Regions from separate parts of the Homo sapiens genome. Here region 1 is linked to region 2. Evidence: promoter capture Hi-C in 16 types of primary human blood cells and fetal thymus (Javierre and others, 2016). All regions are on one chromosome and are shown on one strand. The core of a region is centred on a gene start or on the middle of the fragment in contact, and the rest is flanking DNA. Distances in the headings are between cores, read along the strand shown.

Region 1 (6,401 bases), core at 130-2,629, 560 kb before region 2:
TTAGAAGAGCCTCCTAGAGGATGGACTTCCTTCTGGAGGTGAATAACTAGTGAGAACTGCACACTGTGAGATCTGTAATAAAACACCTTGAATTCTGATTTTCCAACTTGCTCAAGTACTCTCCAGTTGATGCTATGTCCTGAATTAAATTTGAGTTACTGATCTCAAGCATTTGATTTTTTTATGGCTATGATGCATTTCATAGGGTTAAGATAACTCCTTGAAATAGAAATTATCCAAATGGGAAAGCTTGGGTGAAAGTATATGGATAAGCAATTCTGTCCTCCTACAAATTCGCTCCTCTTGAAAAGTCATTATCATTCTTTTGTTGCATATTTGAAGCATCCTGTAAGTAAGCACATTGCTGCTTGAGGAAGTTGCTGTTGGAAAGGCCCCATTTTCATGGTTCATAATAAAGAAATACTGCAACATTATGAAAGAATATTCACCAACTGGTGCGCTCTCAAAAAAGTATTCACAGCCATTGTGTATGATTTGTGAATAAAATAAAACATTAAAATGTGCATTCAGAATATTAGCATGTTAATCATATGCTTCCATATGGTGCTTACAGTTGTCTCCATTGTGTCCATTCAAAGTTATTTGATTTTAAACTTGTACAAGGACTTTATAAACACTTGGTAACCATCATTCATTGCCTTAGCAATATGTAGCTATTCTGACCTAAAGCTAAATGAGACAAAGTATTTTACAGCACTGGTGTGCTGTAAAAATTGAAATATTTGGTTCTGGTCTAAATTTTTAGGTTTGGGGGTTACTTAACAGGAAGAATATAAATTTCAATACTAGCTAATAATTGCAGTTTAACAGTGGATTAATAAAAGCATTCTTTTTCAAGAGTCAAATCACTTACTGAGCAATAATCAGCTATCAAAATTATGTCATGGGTTGCTTGTCCACAAACTCAATCAGATCTTTGCGTAAATTGTACTTTCACATTTCCATTCTTGTGTCCAGAGTCAACAAATGTCAACTCCGTAGGCAGGAGCTGACGCAGCCCTTGAGCCTTGTTTCCTAAATATGGCTTTTGCACAAAAGCATTAGAAAGCTCAATGAGCTTATATTTATTGAATTCTTACTGTGTCCCACTAAGCTAAACTCTGAAATGGATAATCTTATTTAATTCTTACATATCAATGAGTTAAGTACTATTTTTAGCATTTCCACTTAAAAAAAAAAACTGATGTGCAGAGATTAAAGAGCATGGCAAATACATAGTGCTAGTGAATGGCAGGAGAGGCACTTGGAGTGAGCTCTCTATATCCAAAGCCCACAACTTTACCCACTGTGCTCGTCTGTGTTTTGTCTACAACAAACTTTTCATGACCTCTTTTACTGCCCAAAAAGCCCATCCAGTTCAGGAAAGAACAAGCAGACTGGAACATTCTGCATAGTGCTCCCATTACTGCCACATTATACCCCTGGGCACTGACCTGTATTTCATCAAATTTCATACATATTGATGCTGGAGTTTTCTTTATCTTACCAAAAGGTTTTCACACAACTGTATCATGTCTATCCCATGACTGATGGTAATTTTGAGTTGTCATTGCTTTTAAGATGTATCCTAACTTCATTGTGGTTAATTTTTTAAAATTTAATTTTTTAAAGTCAATATAGTGTAATAAATATTGATTAGTATTGTCAAAGCCCTTTAGTGTAGTCTGGGGCCTTACTCAGCAACCTAATTTTGATTTACCTGTCACTAACATATTTTCCAAGAAAATAATCATTTAATTCTAACAGAGCTTAATCCGCTTTTTCAAACCATGCATCATGTTTACTAACTCACGTGTGACTCTCATCCAAGCAGCCACAATTAGAGTCAGCTGCATCCTTTTTCTTTCCAGAATTAAGTACATATATATTTAATTAATTAATATATGTGCGTATATATATGTAGTGACTGTAGAACTTAGTAATTGGTGACAGGTTTCATGATAACTGCTTTAGTTGAAAATAATTTTGAACTTTCAATGATTATATAATCACAGAATCTCGAGTCTGAGGAAATCTTTACATTCCAACTGGTCCAATCTCCCACCCTGGGTAGGAATTCTTGGCTGTAGCTCATCATCCAACCTTGGTGGCTGTGATATATGATACAGCAAATAACATTCTCTATTGATTTAGGTAGGTAAAATGTGATGTATTTTATGTTGCAAAATAAAAGATTTAAAATATTGGGTACATTATGTTGCAAAGTCTCCACCAAGTATCTTTATTTCTTGTTACATGTGGTAGCAACAGCACCAAGTGCCTCAGGGCCTAGACATCTCAGTGATGACTGGCCCTAGGAGACCATCGCTGAGTCCTGATTGCTGCAAATTGGGCTGGCAAATAATACCTGCCTGTACTTAACGTGGTATCCTTGCAACAGTGAATCCTGCTGTGCCCCTATGGGTTCCCTGAATAGCAGCCTCTTGAGTATCTTTTTGACAAGTTCTCTTTAGTTGTCACTGCAGGCCTGGTGTTTGGCCAAGCTTTACATCCATGCTATTAGTGATTTTATTATTCCAGTCAACACATTTCTGCAATAATGATAAAGTACCAATTATGTAATTCTATATTGTTTTGTTATGAATAATAATTAAATGGCTATGAACAATAATTATAGCTACCACTTTTTTATTGACCAGTATGCTAAGTGTTTTGTAATATATTATGTCACCATTATCACTTATTAAGCTTTCATAACTTATCCATAATCAGACTACCTGACCTAATGCCCAAATTTTCAACCTCAACCCTAACTTACTGGGAAGAAAGAAAGTTTATGAAACTTGGCCTAGAGAATTTATAGGAAGTGTGTAAGTTCACACAGCCAACAAGGGGTGAAATTCAGACTTGTGTTACAAGTCTTGCTTTTGGTCCATAGCTCCTTCTAAAACTCAACATTTGATGAAACACATGCAATTTTTGAATACATGGCTGGCTTACTTCTAGTGTAATTAAATTTAGTCTTTGATGTTGCATCCATTTTAATATGTCAGAAATTATACACAAATGTCTGTCTTAGTCTATTTGGGTTGTTCTAACAAAATACTATAAACTGAGTGGCTTTTTTTTTTTTTTTTTTTGAGATGGAGTCTCCCTCTGTCGCCCAGGCTGGAGTGCAGTGGTGTGATCTCGGCTCACTGCAAGCTCTGCCTCCCAGGTTCACGCCATTCTCCTGCCTCAGCCTCCCGAGTAGCTGGGACTACAGGTGCCCGCCACCATGCCCGGCTAATTTTTTTGTATTTTTAGTAGAGACGGGATTTCACCATGTTAGCCAGGATGGTCTCGATCTCCTGGCCTTGTGATCCGCCCGCCTTGGCCTCCCAAAGTGCTGGGATTACAGGCGTGAACCACTGCGCCCAGCCAACTGAGTGGCTTATAAACAACATAAATTTATTTCTCACAGTTCTGGAGGCTGGGAAGTCCCAAGATCAAGGTGCCAGCAGATTTGGTGTCTGGACAATGCCTACTTCTTGGTTCATAGATGGCCATCTTCTCACTGTAAACTCACATGACAGATGTCTAAGATTGAACTAAAAGTCAGAATCAGGAATGATTGGTCTGAAAACGCTGGATTCTATTTCTGCAGCTCCTCCCAAACTAAAGCAGTGGTACCAGGTGGCTCAAAAGTCACATAACTACTTCTGAACCTGACAAATACAGAATTACAATGACAAAGCCAATATTTGAAAGTAGAATAAAATCCATTCCTAAATCCTACCTGTGTCTTTGTGTAAAAGGTATAAACTAAATTTAAGTATTCATTAATGAAAGAAAAATTAAAGCTGTCTATCTAGCCAACATCTCAAGAAAATGTAAATTATAATTCAAATTTATATTCTTGTCTTTAAGTTATAAGGAAAAGGGTGGTTTAACATGTATAAAATAAAAGTCAATTACAAAATAAACCAGAGAGAATAAAAGTTCAAGAGAAGGAATTGGGAAATTGCTTCTTCATTTGATCAATGCTGGTCCCAAAGAACAACTAAAAAAATATTGAGGCTATGAGTCAAGATTGACAGTTCATTAATTGACATTTACAACTTTGTTGACACTTAGTAGACTAAAGTTAGTTTTTGGGTTCCCCAGAAGACAGAATATTTTTTTCATCATTAAAAGCCCAGAGGGCCTGGATTTCATAGTATTTTATTCTTAAGAATATTAGTTCTTTCAGCAATCATTTAAAATATCACAGTGTCTCCTATGAGAGCACTTATATTTTATTGTGTTATATTTTATTGTGTTACTCTCTGGGTTATGACCTTTCAAGTCGATTATTTCCCTCTCCCTTCCCAGAGGCAATCTCATCCTGATTTATATCACCATGGATGGTTTTGCCTGTTCTAGAACTTTCTGTAAATGGAACCATATAATATGTACTTCCTTCTTCCTGTATTTTTTACTCAACATAAATATATTGAGGTTCATCCATGTTAATGCCTTCATCAGTAGTTCATTCCCCTTTGTGTGCCGAGTAGTAGTCCATTGTATGAATATAGTACAGTTTCTTACTCATTTTTCTTTTGATGACCATTTGGATTTTTTCCATTTAGGGGCCACTATGAAGAATGTTTTGAAGATTATTATTCTTCAAGTTTTTGTTTGTTGGTTGGTTGATTGTTTGTGGACATATGTTTTCATATATTTTGAGTAGATCCTGTTAATATTTTCTCTCCTCACTGATTTAATTAACCATTTCCAGAGAAAAAATCCTCAGTTTTAAAAGGCCTGAAATATTTCCATTAAAAAAATAGAAAATATATTTGTTAATAAAACCAGGACCAGCCAATGAGAAAGAATTACAAACAAACTAATATTACTTGAAATACACATTTTGCTGGTCTATCTGTTCTCATAAGATTTTAATGAGAAAATAGTATATTGTCCTTGTCAAGATAGAACTGATAATCTGATTTTTGCTTCCTGCACCAGGAGACACTGAGGGTACTAGTTAGAACATTTGCCATGACACATTTTCCAATGTCAAAACCTTAATATACATTAGGAAAAAAGGAGGGAAAAAAACTAGAAAAGGAAGAAAACACTATTTTTGTGTTTCTATGTAACATATGTTGTGTCAGATATTTTCACATACTTTTTGTAATAATAATTATAATAAACAGCTACCAAACACAGGGAATTTGTTTTTTGCCAGGCACTGTGCTTCATGCTTTGTAAGCATTTCCTCATTAAATTCGCAGGATTCATGTAATTTTTCCAAGATCATGAAACTAGTAAGTAGTATAGCTAGCACTCAGATCCAGTGCTGTGTGAAACCAGATTCTGAGTTCTTCCTACTATGCAATCCTCACTCCCATTTTTGTCACTTATTACTTATAAGACCTCTGCAAAATAGCTGTTTCAAAACTCCTTTGCCAATGAAAACACTGTTGCCTGAAGAGGTTACATGATTTGCCCATAGTGTGGGTTACTGTTTCTTAGTGACATATAGTTCCTAAATTTGTTTCCTAGAAATGTCTTACTTATTGCTAATACTGGTGAGAGAAAAATACAAAAGGCTTATAATCTGTCTCTTTAACACGCAGAATTTTATATAACACTCCACAAGAACTCCTTTGTTATTTAACATGAAATGATGGAAAGTGAGAAAAGAATGGTAGAAACAGAAATTGTCATCTTGAAGGGTACCTGGCAGCTTCATAGTTATAGCATGGACCCTGCCCTTCTTTTTCAGGTTATGGCTCCCCAGGAAAACAAGGTGATGACGTGTGCTCTTTAAGCTGCACCACTGCCTTTGTAGGCTGCCCACTACTTACTGTGACCATATCTGTGCTTAGACAGGAAAGACAAAAGCAAAGACAGAAATTTTGACAAGAGAAATGGTTCCTAATTTCCTCCATGCAATAGACCCTATTCATGTTAGTCTTGTCAATCAGATTATGCAACAACAAAAGAACAATTCATTTCTTGTCAGAGAAGAATGCTAGTGAAGGATTCTGAAAATCCAGAAGGCTTTTGATGTGACAGCTTTAGTGATTCCACTTACTAACAGTGTAATAAACTGAAGCAAGGCTGTGATAGTGCCAATCATAAGAAGCAACTCCCTAAACAGAATATGTCCAGGATTCAGAACATGTTGATTATTTGTGTTTTAAAAGAGGCCATTGTCTGACCAAAGGCTAGCATTATGAATAAATGATTACAAAAAATAAAAAGACAGCAATTTGTTTCTTGCTAATAAATACCTTGAATGAATGGTTTATGAAAATTATTCAGCTGTCCTGACATTTTCATTAATGAAAACTGATAGGTGGGAGACATTTTTTATGACTTTGAGAACTCACTCCCATAGAACCCAGATACACGTTCCCTGATGCTTTGTAGGTGACTATCTATGGAGTATCGTTCAAAAAGTGCAAAGC
Region 2 (6,044 bases), core at 494-2,993:
GTGCATCAAAAGGTGTCAAATAGCTTTCACACAATATTTTCTGAAAGGCATGTTAGATTCTCATGGGCTTTATTTAGTTTAACAAGTTTCACTAGGGGAACCTATTTCCTAAAAGTTTCCATAGTGAATCTGATACCTTCAAACCGCTGTCTCAGTAGTCAACAAATTTGCCTAAAAGTTAAAATCAAGCAGTTTATTATATGAAACAATTTTTCCTTAATATCCACAACCTAGAGACTCATTCTAAACTCACTGAGAGGTTAGACAAGCTTGGATTATCGCTGTTACAAAAGAAGTTCCAAACTTTCTCTATGCCTTACATCTCTTTTACTATAGGATGACGCTTCTTAACCTCTTCTCTGAATACTGTTCTTAAATATACACAGGATTTACAAGAAAACTAATTCTATTAAAACAGTCATAAAAAGTAAACGCGATATATATATGTGCTTCTCTGTTGCATTCAATAAATTCAGTGATGTGTTACTATAATTTTGAATAAGTATAAACAGTATTTCTATATTAACTGCAATGTGATATAAACATATTTTATGATCTCTACTGATGACAGTCACAGATACTACTGTGATTTGTTGCTTATATTTTAACTGAATATTAGTTTTTAAAATTTAGTGAAATGATATACCTTTCTTTCCATCCAAGTTCATGGGTTACCTAAATTGTATGAAACCCACTATTTAGGAAGGCTTGATCAAAATTTCATATTTTACCAGGGAAGAAGTCTTACATAGAATTATTCTGGAACATCAGTATATGTAAAGCAAGGTACTAAAGTATTCCCTATGCTTAACCATTCTTCACCCCAGGGTTAAAATCAGTTTCTAGTGTCTGGTCTTTCCACCAATGACTGAGGTGTTGACCAAATGTGCTAGATCTAGAAAACATACTTTTATTTTAGAAATGTATTATATTTTATCACCCCTAAAACCTTTCCCCATAAGGTGATTGTAAAACCGCCTCATTCTTTAAATTTCTACAACACACACGTCTTACCATGGCTAACATCTTAACAAGGCAGAATCTATTTGTGATTAGATGACACTGAAATGTAGTTCCCTACCTTCCTTCCACTCATTACATTATTTAGAAGACTTTTTAAGAAATAATTTTTTTTTAGGGAGGCAGGCACTTCGTAGAACCCCCTTCACTAAAACTTTGCACTACTGGGAAGTCTCAGCTCGCCGTAACCGACTCAGTCCGGCCTAGCCGATCCCGCAGTCCCGTGACCCGCGCGGTCCAGAGCGAGAAAAGGGAACAGCGCAGGGCTCCCCGGAGCAAGGACCCCACCACACCGCACCCCACCCCACCCCCACGCCAGGCAGGACGGCCGAGGCGGGAGGACGCTGCGGTCCAGGCGCTCGCCCTCCACCCCGGTCCCGGCCCGGGCCAGGCCAAAAAGCTCGAGAGCGCGGCATCCCCGCCTGCTCCCCTCCCATCCCCGGCGAGGAAGTCACCTGAAATGACCGGCCAGGGAGCAGCGGCAGCACCACACGGGCATGGAGCGCTGCGCGAGGGGCGCCCGAGCGCGGCCGCCGTGGCCGCCTCCGCCTCCCCCGGCGAGGCTGCCCGCTCGGGGCGCCCGCTGGCTCGGGGTCGCGGGGTCTGCCGGGCGCCCCTGCCTCGCGCCTCGCCGTTGCCGCGGCTGCCCCGGCTCTGTGGCGCCGGAGTCCGCCTCCAGATAGCGGCTTCCGCTCCTCGCCTGCAGGGAGCCAGGCGCCGGAGGCGGGTGATCTCGGGGCGCCGCGATAGGGGCGGAGCGGGGCGGGGACGCTGCGACGGCGGCTGCAGCGGCGCGCGGGCCCCTCCTCGCAGGTGCGGCTGCGGCGGGCGAAGTCTGCGATTGGTGGAGCCACGGCCCGGGCGAGGGGCCGGGCCTGATGGAGCCGAGGCTGCGCGGGCAGGGGACCGAGGTCTGCAGGCAAACTGCGCGGCTCGACCGGCGGCAATCGAGACCTAGACCTCGGTCAGCGCCCCGCCGCCCCTCTGCGTGCGACTTGGTGAGGCCGGTGGGTGCGCGTCGAGAGGGCCGAGGGACGAGCGGAAGAGAAGCTGCTGCGAACTCGGGCCACCCAGATGGCCCGGCGGAGTTCCCTGCGTAAGGCGCGGCCTCGGCCACTTCGCCGAGGACCCCGGGAAGGGTCGAGCTTCCCACGCCTGAGAACCCACCTTTGGGCATTTCCTCGCGCTGCCGGGGTGCAGACGCCGGGAGCTTCCGGGTGCCTCTCCCGCTGACCCCCGCATCACAGTTACCTGGAGGACTCACCAAACCACAGGTGCCCGGGACCCGCCCACCACGCTTCTTTTATGGAAGTCCCGCTTCCGGGAAGAGGTCATCCTCCCCTCTTCATGTCTCTCAAACACCCACAAGTGTAGGAATTACCAGCACGCCGGGTGAAAATCCAGGTGCTCATCAGGCCCGCCCCAGACCACACCGGCCAGTGTGGGGAAGGGCAGGAACCCCTGCTGCTTTTTAAGCCCCTGCGGGCGTTTGTGATGCAATAGGGAGTTAGAAAAGTACTCAATAGTGAGTGTCGTTATTCGGTTTGTCAAAAATTAAAGGTGGGGAGGACAAAAATCAGGAGAGATTGATTGCATCTACTTTTCTACGGAAATGTCTAACTCCGCTTCCAAAAAAAGCCGTAATTATTTTTGTGCTTCAAATATACGTTTATGTTTATATCTTTCAACATAATTTTGTAAAACAAATGTTAAGTTTTACTGAATGTTGTCACTGAACAAACTTGTGATGAGCAGGTATTTTAGAGTCTTGGGGTCTTAAAAGAAAATCATAGGACTCAGACTGCCCCAGAGTTATGCAATCTAAGAGTATATTAACCACTTTTAAGTATTATATGTTTTTCTCTTTTTTGAGCTTTTGTCGATTTGACACGTTCATTTCATTTGAATGTTGGTTCTGAAAATGAAGCATGTAGTTACTTTTCCGTTAACATACATAACAGCATTTTAAAGTACCTAAATTCCTTTTGGAAGGCCGAGGCGGACGGATCACCTGAGGTCAGAAGTTCCAGACCAGCCTGACCAACATGGTGAAACCCGTTTCTACTAAAAATACAAAACCTAGCCCCGGGCGTGGTGGCACGCGCCTGTAATCCCAGCTACTCAAGAGCCTGATGCAGGAGAATCGCTTGAAACCGGGAGGCGGAGGTTGCAGTGAGCTGAGATCGCGCCACTGCACTCAGCCTGGGCCAAAGAGTGAGACTCCGTATCAAAAAATAATAATAAAGTACCTGGCCGGGCGCGGTGGCTCACGCTTGTTATCCCAGCACTTTGGGAGGCCGAGACGGGCAGATCACGAGGTCAGGAGATCGAGACCATGGTGAATGGCGTGAACCCGGGAGGCGGAGCTTGCAGTGAGCTAAGATCGCGCCACTGCACTCCAGCCTGGGCGACAGAGCGAGACTCCGTCTCAAAAATAAATAAATAAAGTACCTACATTCCTAAAAGCAGTGCTTAATTCTGCAGCACATATACTAAAATTAGAATAATATAAAGATTAGCATGGCCCCTTCCCAAGGATAACACGCAAATTCGTGAAGCGTTCCGTATTTTTAAATATATACACCTACTATGTAACCAAAAAAATTAAAAATAAACATATAAATTCCTGAAAGCTATGCCAGTCCAATCCAGATAATTCTTTTAATTTTTAATTTTTATTTTTTGTGAGTACATGGTATATATATTTATGGGGTACATGAGATTTTGATACAGGCATACAATAAGTAATAATCACATCAGGGTACATGGAGTATCCATCACCTCAAATATTTATCCTTTCTTTGTGCTACAAACAATCTAATTATACTTAGTTATTTTAAAATGTTCAATGAATTATCGTTGACTAGTCACTCTCGTGCTGTCAAATACTAGATCTAATTCTGTCTATACTTTTGTACCTATTAACCATCCCCACTCTGCCCCTTAATTCCCCACTACCCTGCCCAGCCTTGTAACCATCATTCTATTCTCTGTTAGTTCCGTTGTTTTAATTTTTAGCTCCCACAAATAAGTGAGAACATGCAGAGTTTGTCATTCTGTACCTGGCCTATTTCACTTAAAGTAGTGACATCAGTTGCATCCATTTTGTTGAAAATAACAGGATCTCATTCATTTTTATGGCTGAATGCTACTACGTTGTGTACATAAACCACATTTTCTTTATTTGTCTATTGATGGACACTTAGGTTGTTTCCAAATCTTGGCTGTTGTGAACAGTGCTGCAATAAACATGGGAGTGCAAGTATATCTTAGGATATACTGATTTCCTTTCTTTGGGGTATATACCTATCAGTGGCATTGCTGGATCATGTGGTAGCTCTATTTTTAGCTTTTTGAGGAATATCCAAACTATTCTCCGTAGTGGCTGTACTAATTTACATTCCCACCAACAGTGTACAAGGGTTCTCTTTTCTCCACATCCTCATCAGCATTTGTTATTGCCTGTCTTTTGGATATAGGCCATTTTAATTATGATGAAATGATATCTCATTGTAGTTTTGATTTGCATTTCTCTGATGATGAGTGATGTTGAGCACCTTTTCATATACTTATTTGTCATTTGTATGCCTTCTTTTGGTAAATGTCTATTCACATCTTTTGCCCATTTTAAATTTTTTTTTTTTTTGAGAGATAGGTTCTTGCTCTGTCATCCAGGCTGGAATGCAGTGGTTTGATCTAGCTCACTGAAGCTTCGAACTCCTGGGCTCAAGTAATCCCCCCACTTCAGCCTCCTGAGTAGCTGGGACTAGAGGTGTGCACCACCACACCTAGCTAAATTTTCTTTTAATTTTTTTTTCTTTTTTTTTTTTTTGTAGAGATGGGGTTTCTACAAAAAAACAGCCTGCCCATGTTGCCCAGGCTGGTCTTGAACTCCTGGCCTCAAGTGATCCTCCTGCCTTGGCCTCCCAAAGTGCTGGGATTACAGGTGGGAACCATGGTGCCTGGCCCTTTTGTCCTTTTTAAACTCAGATTATTATAATTTTTCCTATTAAGTTGTTCATGCTCCTTATATATACTGGTTATTAATCCCTTGTCAGATGGATAGTTTGCAAATATTTTATTCCCATTCTGTGGATTGTCTCTTTGTTGATTGTTTCCTTTGCGGTGCAGAAGCTTTTTATCTTGATGTGGTCACATTTATCCATATTTGCTTTGGATGCCTGTGCTTTCAGGGTATTACTCAGCAACTCTTTTGCCCAGCCCAATGTCCTGGAGAGCTTCCTCAATGTTTTCTTTTAGTAGTTTCATAGTTTCAGATCTTAGATTTAAGTCTTTAATCCGTTTTGATTTGATTTGTGTGTATGGTGAGAGATAGAGGTCTACTTTCATTCTTCTGCATATGGCTATCCAGTTTTCCCAGCACCATTCATTAAACAGACCGTCCTTTCTCCAATGTGTATTCTTGGCACCTTTGTCGAAAATGACTGCAGATATATGGAGTTGTTTCTGGGTTCTCTATTCTGTTCCATTGTTTTTTTTTTTTTTTGAAATGGAGTCAGCCTCTGTCACCCAGGCTGGAGTGCAGTGGCAAGATCTCGGCCCACTTTTACCTCCACCTCTTGGGTTCAAGCGATTCTTCTTCCTCAGCCTCTCAAGTAGCTGAGATTACAAGTGCGTGCCACCATGCCTGACTAAGTTTAGTATTTTTAGTAGAGACATGGTTTCACCATGTTGGCCAGACTTGTCTCGAACTCCCGGCCTCAAGTGCCGCCTCGGCCTTCCAAAAGTGCTCAAAGTGCTGGGAATACTGGTGTGAGCCACCATGCCCAGCTAATTTTTGTACTTTTAGTAGAGACAGGGTTTCACCATGTTGGCCAAGCTGATCTCAAACTGACATCAAGGGATCCACACGCCTCGGCCTCCTAAAATGCTTGCATTACAGGCATGAGCCACTGTGCCTGGGCCCTCTTCCACTGGTCTTTATGTCTGTTTTTATGCCAATACCATGTCATTTTGGTCGCTATAGCTCTGTAGTATAATTTGAAGCCTGGTAATGTGATTCG

Evidence for each region. Contacts are between HindIII fragments. The CHiCAGO score rates a contact against its expected background, and 5 or more counts as called.
Region 1: a contact is called between a fragment that was not itself captured here and the fragment with the promoter of OSGIN2 in region 2, in 1 of 17 cell types (total CD8 T cells). The highest score is 5.8, in total CD8 T cells.

Annotation. Positions count from the first base shown.
Region 1 is chr8:90,454,885-90,461,285 of GRCh38, reverse strand. The region is part of intron 3 of LOC124901975 (a long non-coding RNA gene); the gene reads left to right. Among named protein-coding and RNA genes, the nearest start is that of LINC01030, 150 kb to the left of the region's middle. The HindIII fragment of the contact is 2,255 bases long and covers 252-2,506 here.
Region 2 is chr8:89,898,269-89,904,312 of GRCh38, reverse strand. It overlaps OSGIN2 (oxidative stress induced growth inhibitor family member 2), which reads right to left and starts at 1,743. Exons shown (of 6, transcript NM_001126111.3): 1 at 1,476-1,743. The coding sequence starts at 1,519. LOC124901974 (a long non-coding RNA gene) reads left to right here and starts at 1,907. Exons shown (of 2, transcript XR_007061001.1): 1 at 1,907-2,294; 2 at 4,857-6,044. It also overlaps the pseudogene RNU6-925P. RefSeq lists silencers at 119-178, 1,172-1,621, 1,652-1,991, 1,741-2,039 and enhancers at 2,333-3,098, 3,099-3,864. The HindIII fragment of the contact is 4,461 bases long and covers 272-4,732 here.